2 separate regions of the Homo sapiens genome follow, and region 1 is linked to region 2. Evidence: promoter capture Hi-C in human tissues and cell types (Jung and others, 2019). All regions are on one chromosome and are shown on one strand. The core of a region is centred on a gene start or on the middle of the fragment in contact, and the rest is flanking DNA. Distances in the headings are between cores, read along the strand shown.

What was found. Contacts are between HindIII fragments. The study calls those that stand out against the background at their distance.
Region 1: the fragment with the promoter of SLC30A4 here is called in contact with the fragment with the promoter of SHF in region 2 in 1 of the 25 tissues and cell types used here (dorsolateral prefrontal cortex).

What each region holds. Positions count from the first base shown.
Region 1 is chr15:45,520,926-45,526,387 of GRCh38, forward strand. It overlaps SLC30A4 (solute carrier family 30 member 4), which reads right to left and starts at 1,830. Exons shown (of 8, transcript NM_013309.6): 1 at 1,682-1,830; 2 at 1,039-1,543. The coding sequence starts at 1,429. It also overlaps the pseudogene HMGN2P46. RefSeq lists a silencer at 1,533-2,022. The HindIII fragment of the contact is 11,317 bases long and covers 1-5,462 here.
Region 2 is chr15:45,185,332-45,190,473 of GRCh38, forward strand. SHF (Src homology 2 domain containing F) reads right to left here and starts at 2,635. Exons shown (of 7, transcript NM_001394037.1): 1 at 2,123-2,635. The coding sequence starts at 2,620. It overlaps LOC124903481 (a long non-coding RNA gene), which reads left to right. Exons shown (of 2, transcript XR_007064608.1): 1 at 1-1,127; 2 at 2,784-3,487. RefSeq lists an enhancer at 1,063-1,615 and a silencer at 2,530-2,579. The HindIII fragment of the contact is 29,845 bases long and covers 1-5,142 here.

The DNA of each region.
Region 1 (5,462 bases), core at 580-3,079, 330 kb after region 2:
TTGAACGCCTTAGAGGCAAAAAGAGCTTTGTGAGTTGTAAGAGGAAAAAGAAGACCAGCATGGCTGAAGCGAGCCCTGGGGAGGAGTGTTATGAAAGAAGGTAGGAAATGTATATAATTTTTCCCACATAGAACCCTCCAGTCAAACATCTTAAATCTGGACTGCCACCTGTTTTTGTCATGGTTCATCATTTAAGAGATGACATGTAAGAATCATCTCCCTGCTTTTATGTCACTTTGTAAACTGTCACTGAGAAGTTAGTAGTTATACTGACGTGATTGAAAATAACCTCTAAACTAAGAATGTATCTTATATTGAGAACGGATTGTTCGTATAATTAAAAAATGAACAAGAAAACCAGGCTCATAGAACTTTGGCGGAGTCCTCTGGTTCATTTCAGGCCCTTCTTACGAGGCAAAAATTTCATGTTAGTTGGTAATTAATTTTGCAAATCTCTTGGCTATAAATACAAAAGGAAATCGTATAAAAGAAACCACTTAGGTCAAATGTAGAGGAAAAAAATGCTGGGACTGTAGATGTGGCTCTTCCATTAACTCCCTAAGTGGCCCTCACGACTTATTCCACTGGTTTGTGCCCTGGAAATCCTTACATGTAAAAAAAAAAAGGAGGTGGAGCAGGTGTTCAGTAAGGTCCCTTCATACTGTAAAATTCTATGATCTTAAGTTATTTACGATCATTTACTATTTTAAACGTTGCGAAAATTAACCTGGTATTTTACCAGACCTTTGTAAAAAGAGGAAGTTACATGACATACAATGAAGATAACGTCCTTAACTTTACGGTAGATGACAGTGGTTGAACAACTAGAAGAGAAAGTCAAAGTTATCTCGGGGAGTTTATATTGTACTTAGATTGAGCTGCACTTTGGAACCGTGTGGCCTTTTCACATGAGATCAGTGTCTTGATAAATACAAACTTCCTGAAAAGATGGGTTAAACCTCAAAGCCTGTGTAACTACAGCTTGACAAAGACTCTCGAGGAAAGGTAAACGGAAAGTGAGTTGGCAACACAACTCACCTACAAGTTCTCCAATCATGAAAAGCAAGTACAGAACGGCAGCAATGGTCAACCTGGCTTTCACCTTTCTCTGCTTCAGTATCTCTCTCTGTTTGCTGCAGTTGTCACAGGAGTCCACCTTCAAACTCAGCTGACTGTTGGTCAAAGGTAAGTCTTGGTCCAGTAAGGAATCATCGTCGGCCTGGAGGGTCGGGTGCGCCCCGTTAACAGGCCTTTCCGGGGCTTCGGAACCGTCATCGGCCACCACAACTCGAAGTTTGTTGAACCGAGAAAGCCCCTCGTCCCCCGCCTCATCCGAGAAGTCAAAGGCGCTGGTGTCATTTAAAAACAGCGGCGCATCATCCTTCCTTAGCATAGATTTGAGGCGCTTCCACGCGCCAGAGCCGGCCATGGCAGAGGCTGAGCGGCCGCGGTGCGGAACGGCTTGGGGGAGGCGGACGGCCGGCGGCGCCTACTTCACCGGAGCGCCAGTTCTCGAGGGCAGTGCCGCGCGTCCCTCCCCATCCTGTGGAAAACGAAACACGTTATAAATTAAAGGCGCCCAACCCTGTCCTCAAGTTCCGAAGCCGCTGGCGGCGGGTCGCAGGGCCGACCCCGACGCTCCGCCGGGGCTCCGCGAGGGGGCGGCACATCTATTTAATACCTGGGGCGCTGCCGCGGGGCCGCAACTCATCTCCCCGCCCCCGGCCGGCTCAGCGAGGCGGGCTCGCGCTGCTCCACCCGCGGCCGCAGGAGAGTGGGGTCGTGCTCGCGCCCGCCGCGCCCGCTGCTGGAGGCCGGCTCCCCAGGTCTGACAGGTTCGGGGCCGGACGCCCACAGCCACCGCCTCTCCCCGCCCTGCGCGAGGCCACGCGCGTGCGCCGGGCGAGGCGCGCGAGGGAGGGGTCGGCGCGAGGACACGCAGGCCTGGCGCGCAGGGCTGGGGCGCCCGCGATGGGCGGGGGCGCGCGGCGCGCCCCGCCTCTCGCCCCGAGGCTGGATTGGGGGCCACTGCGCCGCCTCCGCCCAGGGGTCACTCACTGGCCAACTGAGGGGACTTTGGGCGGCCTCTTCCACCTTCCCAGGCTGGGAGGCAAGTGCGGTCGGAGGGTCACGCCGGGGGCTGGGCGTTGCTGCTAGGAGTTCCCTCCACCGAAAGTGTGTCTCAGGAATCTCGGGTCGGGATCTGGGTTGCGGGTGCTCGGCAGAAGACAAACCCAGCACTTTTCTTGCTAACTGAAAAGGCAAGCAGCTTTTCTCTCCTCGAATTGCTTGTCTCTGGCAAATTGGCAACATTTGCTGCAGTCAACTGGAGAGGGCAAGGCTGTCGTCGTCAGCAGTTCTGTGTCCTACTGTTTTTCAGCAAATATGTATTGTCCTCTTTGTGCTCTCTGCCGTGTTCCTTTTGCCTCCAAGGTATTTACGATATGGACTAAACTCAAGCATAGAAAATCTAGTACAGGCATACCTTGGAGATACTGCGAATTTGGTTCCAGACCACCGCAATATGACAAAGTGAGGTCTCACAAATGTTTCATGTCCCAGTGCAAATACAATCATGTTTATAATGTAGTCTATTAAGCGTGTAATAGCGTTATGTCTAAAACAATGTGCATACCTTAATTTAAAATATTGGGAGAGAGGAAGGAAAAAGTATATATACATTTGTTAATTGCTCTGAGGAAGGAGGGTCGCATGAGCCCAGAGGTTCGAGATTACAGTGAGCTATGATTGTGCCTCCGCACCCCTGCCTGGCGACAGAGTGAGACCTTGTCTCTAAAAATAAACAAGTAAATAAAATACATGACTGCTAAAAAAATGCTATCAGCTGGGCGTGGTGGCTCACGCCTGTAATACCGGCCCTTTGGGAAGCCGAGGCGGGCGGATCACCTGAGATGGGGAGTTCAAGACCAGCCTGACCAAAATGGAGAAACCCTGTCTCTACTAAAAATACAAAATTAGCTGGGCATGGTGGCGCATGCCTGTAATCCCAGCTACTAGGGAGGCTGAGGCAGGAGAATCGCTTGAACCCGGGTGGCGAAGGTTGTGGTGAGCCGAGATCACGCCATTACACTCCAGCCTGGGCAAGAAGAGCAAAACTCGGTCTCAAAAAAAAAAAAAGCTATCAATCATCTAGGCCTTTAGCAAGTCATATTCTTTGCTAGTTGGAGGGTCTTTGCTCCTTGTTAATGGCTGCTGACTGATCTGGATGGTGGCTGCTGAAGGTTGGGGTGGCTGTGGCAATTCCTTAAAATAAGACAACAATGACATTTGCTATATTGATTGACTTGTTTTCATGAAAGAGTTCTTGATGGCGTGTGATGCTGGTTGATAATATTTTACCCACAGTGGACCTTTCAAAATTGGAGTCAATCCAGTTTTCTCAAACCCTGCCTCTGCTTTATCAACTAAGTTTATGGAATATTCAAATCCTTTGTTGCCATTTCAACAGTGTTCACAGCATCTTCACAAGGAGTAGATTCTATCTCAAGAAACCACTCTCTCTGCTTATCTATAAGAAGCAACTCCTCATCTGTTCAAATTTTATGAGATTGCAGCAATTCAGTCACATCTTCAGGTTCCACTTCTAGTTCTCTTGCTATTTCCACCACATCTACAGTTACTTCCTCCATTGAAGTCTTGAATCCCTCAAAATCATCCATTAGGGTTAGAATCCACTTCTTCCAAAATCCTGTTAATATTGATATTTTGACCTCCCATGAATCACGAATGTTCTTAATGGCATCTGGAATGCTGAATCCTCTCCAGAAGTTTTTCAATTTACTTTACCTAGGTCCATCAGAGGAATCAATGGCAGCTATAGCCTTATGAAAGGTATTTCTTCTTTTTTATTCATTTATTTTTATTTTTAGATGGTGTTTCACTCTTGTTGCCCAGGCTGGAGTGCAATGGCGCGATATCGGCTCACCGTAACCTCTGCCTCCCGATTTCAAACTATTCTCCTCCCTCAGCCTCCCAAGTAGCTGGGATTACAGGCATGTGCCACCACGCCTGGCTAATTTCGTATCTTTAGTAGAGATGGGGTTTCACCATGTTGGCCAGACTAGTCTCGAACTCCCGACCTCAGGTGATCCACCTGGGTCGACCTTCCAAAATGCTGGGATTACAGGCATGAGCCACCGCGCCCGGCCAGTCACCCAGGTTTTGTTCCATTTATAGAGCACAGGTAGAGTAGATTTAGAATAATTCCTACGGGCCCTAGAATTTTCGGAATGGTAAATGAGCATTGGCCTTAACTTAAAGCTACGGGCTGCATTAGCCTCTAACAAGAGAGTAAGATTGTCCTTTGAAGCTTTGAAGCCAGGCATCAACTTCTGTCTAACTATGAAAGCCCTAGGTGGAATCTTCCAATAGAAGGCTGTTTCCCCTGTATTGAAAATCTGTTGTTTATTGTAGTCACCTTTAATGATCTTAGCTACACCTTGTGGACAACTTGTTGCAGTTTCTCCATCAGCATTTGCTGCTGCTTCTTGCACTTTTATGTTATGGAGATTGCTTTTTTCCTTAAATCTCATGAACCGACCTCTGCTAGCTTCAAACTTTTCTTTTTTGTTAAAAAAATTATTTAATTTATTTATTTTTAAATAGAGACAGGGTCTCACTATGTTGCCCAGGCTGGTCTGGGTATTTCTAATTTCCTTCAAGAACCTTCCCATTTCCCAGAGTCAAGTGATAAAAGTTTAATACAAACAAACAAACAAACCCAAACAATAAAAAAGAACTTTTCATTTGCATTCACAACCTGGGTAAGAAAAGGCATAGTGCAGGGCATGGTGGCTCACGCCTGTAATCCCAACACTTTGGAAGCCTGAGGCAGGCGGATCACCTGAGGTCAGGAGTTCGACACCAGCCTGGTCAACATGGTGGACCTCTACCATAGTAGAGACAACCCTGTCTCTACTAAAAATACAAAAATTAGCTGGGTGTGGTGGCATGTGCCGAGTAGCTCCCAGCTGCTTGGGAGGCTGAGGCAGGAGAATCGCTTGAAGCTGGGAAGCGGAGGTTGCAGTGAGCCTCGCACCATTACACTCCAGCCTAGACGACAGAGCAAGACTCCGTCTCAAAAAAAAAAAAAAAAAAAGAAGAGGCATAGCTTTCAGCCTATCTCAGCTTTCTTTCTTTTTTCTTTCCTTCCTTCCCTTCCCTCCCTTCCCTTCCCCCCTCCTTTCCCCTTCCTTCCTTCCCCTTCCCCCCTCCTTTCCCCTTCCTTCCTTCCCCTTCCCCCCTCCTTTCCCCTTCCTTCCTTCCCCTTCCCTCCTCCTTTCCCCTTCCTTCCTTCCTTGCCTGCCTCCCTCCCTCCTTCCTTCCTTCCTTTCTTCCTTCCTTCTTTTCGTCCTTCCTTCCTTCTTTCCTTTTTTTGGAGTGCACAGGCACAATCATGGCTCACTGAAACCTCTACTGCTCAGGCTCAGGCAATTCTCCCA
Region 2 (5,142 bases), core at 1,385-3,884:
CCAGCTCACATCCAGGAGCAGCATCTCTTAGGTTTAGGGTAAGGGACTCAGGTACCTTGTTTGAGCTTTTCCTAGGGGAAGACTCAGACCCCAAACTCTGCTCCTAAAGGGGTGGGGAGCTGCTCTCTCTAAATGGTGGGAGGCCCCAGGTCAGGGCCCAGAGAGATAGCATCCCTGCCCCGGGCCAACTCAGATGGCATCCTGGGTCTTTCTCATCACACCCATTAAAGAAACCACAGATTGTATGGCTCCTGGGAGAGCCTGCTGGATTTCATTCCTGTCCCTGTAGCTGACAAAGGAGTCAGACATCTCTTGGCCCCTAAGTCTGAACAGCACACAGATCACAGAGCTGACCCAAGCTGAGGCATGGAGGCCCTTGGCAAGAAGAGGCTGTGAGTCTCTGCATAGAACTGTGTGGGTGCACCCCTTCCTTGGGGGTGTCTGGGAAAATGTGCAAGGGAAGCTGTGGCTAGGGGAGTCTCCGACCCTCACGCCACCCTGATAATGGACAGTCACCATTCAGGACATATTTATGTACCCTTTTTTATGTCAAGCATTGTGTCAGGCACTTGGGAGACACAAGAAGACATGGTCTGTGTCCTGGAGGAGCCCATGGCTTGGTGGGCAGCCTGTTAGGGCATCCAAGCCACTGTAGAGAGGAGAAGGGCCAAAGACAGCTCAGGCCCATGTTGCCTGTGCCAAACAGGCAGTGGTTAGAGAGGAGGAGACTGACTGGTCAGTGGGAAGAACAGGGCCTATCCCTCTCCTCTGTCTCACTGTCACTACCTCCATCACATCACACAATAGCAGGGGACAAGAAGCAGACGAGCACAGCCTTGGAGAAGTGCCCTTGAACCTTCCTCTGCAGAATAAGTATCCTGGCCCAGGATGGGCAGCCATGCCCCATGGCAAAAACTAGGGGAAAAATAATTTGCATTCCTGAGGCTTCTGCTCTGACCCTGACAGATCTCTCTCATCCAGGAAATCTGGCGGAACGGCGCTCTCTCAGCTAAAAAGCCTCAATCCTGGAGCCAACGGATTCGGAAAGCAACTTTGCACTCCAATCAAATAAAAATGTTCTTCTCTGCTGAGGAGAAGGGGGCAGGCCCCAGAACTGAGCTCTCGGGGTGAGTGAAGAAGGACAGCAGAGCCAAGGCAGCCCACAGAGTCATCATCACAGAATTTAGGGGCCTGGGATGGCTTTCAGCTCTCACTCTGCCAGGGAGGGATAAGGCCAACCCGAATCAGGGCAGGGCCCTGAGGCATGGTGGATTTCCTGTTCTCCTCCCTATCCTGGTGCCTGCAGACCCAGGAAAAGCTCCAGCCTCCCTCAGAATGGACCAGGGGGAGAGGGAGGCCAGGAGGAGAGGAGGAATGGGCTCAGCTGCTTAGCCCCATGTGGGCAACAGGTCCTGAGCACTGACTATCCTCATACCTGAGAGGACGAGGGAAGGAGGGAGGAGTGGGCCTGGACCCCACGAAGCCCCCTTGGCAAGAGCTGTAAGCTGCCTGTCTTCGCCTCCTGAGAACAACAGCCTATAGGGCAAAGGCCAGCTCGTGCTGTGTCCGCAAGGAGAAACCCGTCTTCACCTCCTTTCTGGGGCTTCAGCACCTGCAAGGATGCTTAGGCTGGAGAAACAGGAGGAGGAAGAGGAGGAGGAAGCAAAGAGGCAACAGGAGGGAAGAGCTTTGTGCTGGCTATGCCCAGGGGGAAGGGTCAGAGATCAAAGGGCACTGAGCCGCTGCTTCCAGAGGGGCAGAAAGGCCATCAACCAGTGGGGGTTGGGAGGTGCGCCTCAATTCCCGTTAGCAAAAGGCTCATGGATCAGGCTAGAGGGGGCTACGAAGTGGAGAGCCAGCCCGGGAGGGGGAGGGTCACCAGTTCTGGGGCCATTACAAAGGATAGGGCAGAGGGGCAGAGTTTGGGGCTTCCGTCTCAGATTAGTCGGTTGAGAATCTGAACAAAGGTGGGTGAAGGCTCGGAACCCCGGGGTCAGGGGCTCGCGTCTGCCAGAAGCTGAGACACCGAGGGGCCCGGGCCAGGCCACCTTTGTCCCTCTCGCAGCCTCCAGACCCCTGACCGCCTTCCCTCCTGGCCATCCCGGCCCGGCGCGGCACTCACCCTATCGCTGCTGGCGGGGGGTCCGGAGATCCGCTCATCAGCAGGCGGCGCCGGGGGCCCCGGGGTCTCGACCCGAATAAGGCGGTGTGGGGGAGAGCCGTGGCGCGGGGGCGGCGTGGGTCCGGGGGCGACAGGGGTGGCGAGGGCGGCGGAGCCGGACGACCCCCCGGAGTAGGGGTCTTCGAAGTCGCGCTCCCGCTGCAGCCTGTAGGCGGCCAGGATGTCCGGGGGCGGCGCGGGGGGCGCGGCCGGAGAGGGCGCAGGGGGGCGGTAGTCGGGCTCGGGGGGCGCCGGCTTGCTGCCCCCTCCGCCGCCGCCCCCCCCGCGGAAGCCCAGGTGCTCCCGGAGCCACTTGGCTACTCCGCCGCTGCCGCCCCCTCCTGGGCCGGCTCCCGCACCCCCGGCGCCCCGGCGGGACCCCCCCGGGCCGCCCCCAGCGCTCCCCTGCGTTCGCGGCCCCGGGCGGGAGCCAGCCGGAGGAGCTCCGCTCAGTAACATGGGGCCAGCCAGACTGAGCGAGGGGAGCGCAGCGGCGGGTGGGGGGCGGGGGCGGGGGTGGGGAGGGGGGCGGGGCTCCGCCGGGCGGGGAGGGGGCGGGGCGCTTCAGTAACAAGGGAGAGGCGGGGCTCCGCTCCCTAACAGGGTCTTCCTCCTCCCGTAGCTCGGAAGAGTGTACGCGGGCTTCCAGCCGGTATGCACAGGCAAGAAGTGAAGTGGGCAGCCCTGGGGCAGAGGATGCGACTACTGGACTGAGGTTGAATCCTTTACGTGTCGCCACGCGGTCCCCTGTGGGGAGCGCATCCATCCCCATCTGTTCTTTTCCCCAGCTCCCAGCTCGTGCGAGACGCAAAGAGGGGAGCCCCCAGACTCCTGACTCTAGGGAGCCTTACGCCTCTCCTCTTCCCTCTCCCAGGATCTCGCAACTGGGAAACTATAATCTAGGAGGAAAATCTAGGCGGGCAAGAAAAGGGGCTAGGTTCTGTAAGATGTGTCTGTAAGCCTCCTCCTCCCGTGCTACCTTGGGAGCCCCACAACCTCCTCCCATCCAACCGTACGCACTGCACATACCCGAACCTACGTTACTTCCCGATCCAGGCAAACACATCTCACATCACATACAAACAACTCCCTAGAGACGCCCACTTCTCCCGTGTCGTTTTCACACACGCCCTTCTCACACGCAAACAGCCCTCGCTCAAACATCCCCCACCCACGGGAGCACCTGCTCCAAACGGGCCCACATGGCCCTGACGATAGCATGCGCACGCACGCAGAAATCCCTTCCAGCCACATCCCGGGCTTCATTGTCAATCAGATTAGTAACAGAATGGAAACAGACAAGTCAATAAATCAAGTCTAGAAACAGTCCCAGTGTTGTCTATCACAAACTCCTTATCCTCTTGAGGCTCAGATGCTCAAGTGCTAGGCATTTTTGTCTTAGAAATAAAGCCAGTTCCGGCTGGGCGCGGTGGCTCACGCCTGTAATCCCAGCACTTTGGGAGGCCGAAACGGGAGGATCACGAGGTCAGGAGATCGAGACCATCCTGGCTAACACGGTGAAACCCCGTCTCTACCAAAAATACAAAAAAATTAGTCGGGTGTGGTGGCGGGCACCTGTAGTCCCAGCTACTCGGGAGGCTGAGGCAGGAGAATCGCTTGAACCCAGGAGGCAGAGGTTGCATTGAGCTGAGATTGCGCGACTGCACTCCAGCCAGGGCGACAGAGTGAGACTCCGTCTCAAAAAAAAAAAAAAAAGAAAAAGAAAAAAGAAAAGGAAAGAAATAAAGCCAGTTCCTCACCATAAATGTAGGCCTGAAGCCAACACCAACACATTTGCTCTTGGCTCTGCTGGGAAAGCAGCTGTCTCACCTCACTTTACCCCACCCCCTTTCCCCCACTGCCTCAGTGTCTCCGCACTCCTAGGTTCATGTCTGCCTTTTTTTTTTTTTTTTTTTTTTTGAGACGGAGTCTCACTCCGTCGCTGGAGTACAGTGGCACGATTTCAGCTTACAGCAACCTCCACCTCCCGGGTTCAAGCAATGCTCCCAGCTCAGCCTCCCTAGTAGCTGGGATTACAAGCGTGCGCCACCACACCTGGTTAATTTTTTGTATTTTTAGTAGAGATGGAGTTTCACCGTGTTGGCTAGGCTGGTCTCGAACTCCTGACCTCAAGTGATTCCCCACCTCGGCCTTCCAAAATGCTGGGATTACAGGTGTGAGCCAACGGCACCTGGCCATATCTGCCTTTTGAGGGCGCAAAAAGCCAAGAGGCCCCAAAGGAAAGGAGTTCAAAGCGGGGGGTGTAAAGAAGGATGTAATGGCAAAACTGTGAATCTCCTGGGATTCCCAGGGCCCCGAGTCTCAAAATATTTGTTGAGTTCCTGCTTTGTGCAAATTCTAGTTGGGCGAGGTGGCTCATGCTTGTAGTCCCAGGTACCTGGGAGGTTGAGGTGGGAGAATTGCTTGAGCCCAGAAGTTCAAGGCTGCAGCGAGCTATGATTGTGCCACTGGTCAGACAGTGCTGCTTGTATTTAGGACAGTGCTTCTGATCAAGCCAGTGCTGCTTGTATTTAGGACAGTGCTTCTCAAACTTTAATGTGGACACTAATCTCCTGGGGATCTTGGTAAGTTACAGATTCTGACTCTCTAGGTCTAGCTGGGGTGGGGTCCCAGGTGATACAGATACTGCTGGTCCCAGACCACATGTTGAGTAGCTGGACTGTAGGAGATACTGGAGAATCTGATGTTGAACTTGGTTTTATGAAGTATAATAGAGAAAATAACGTGCATATTTTTAAAATGTGCAGTTAAATTGACTAATGGTGCAAAACGAAGCTGGACATAGAGATGATAAATAGAGAAGAATGGTCCAGTTAATGTATATCAGAGAGTCTCCACAGTCACCAGGTGTGAGGGCATGGATAGGTAACTAATAAGAAATCCAATAGTTGTGGGCTGTAGCCAGGTATTTGGGGAAGGTACTCAATGCTACTGATACTTGCTTTCATGATCTCTGGAAA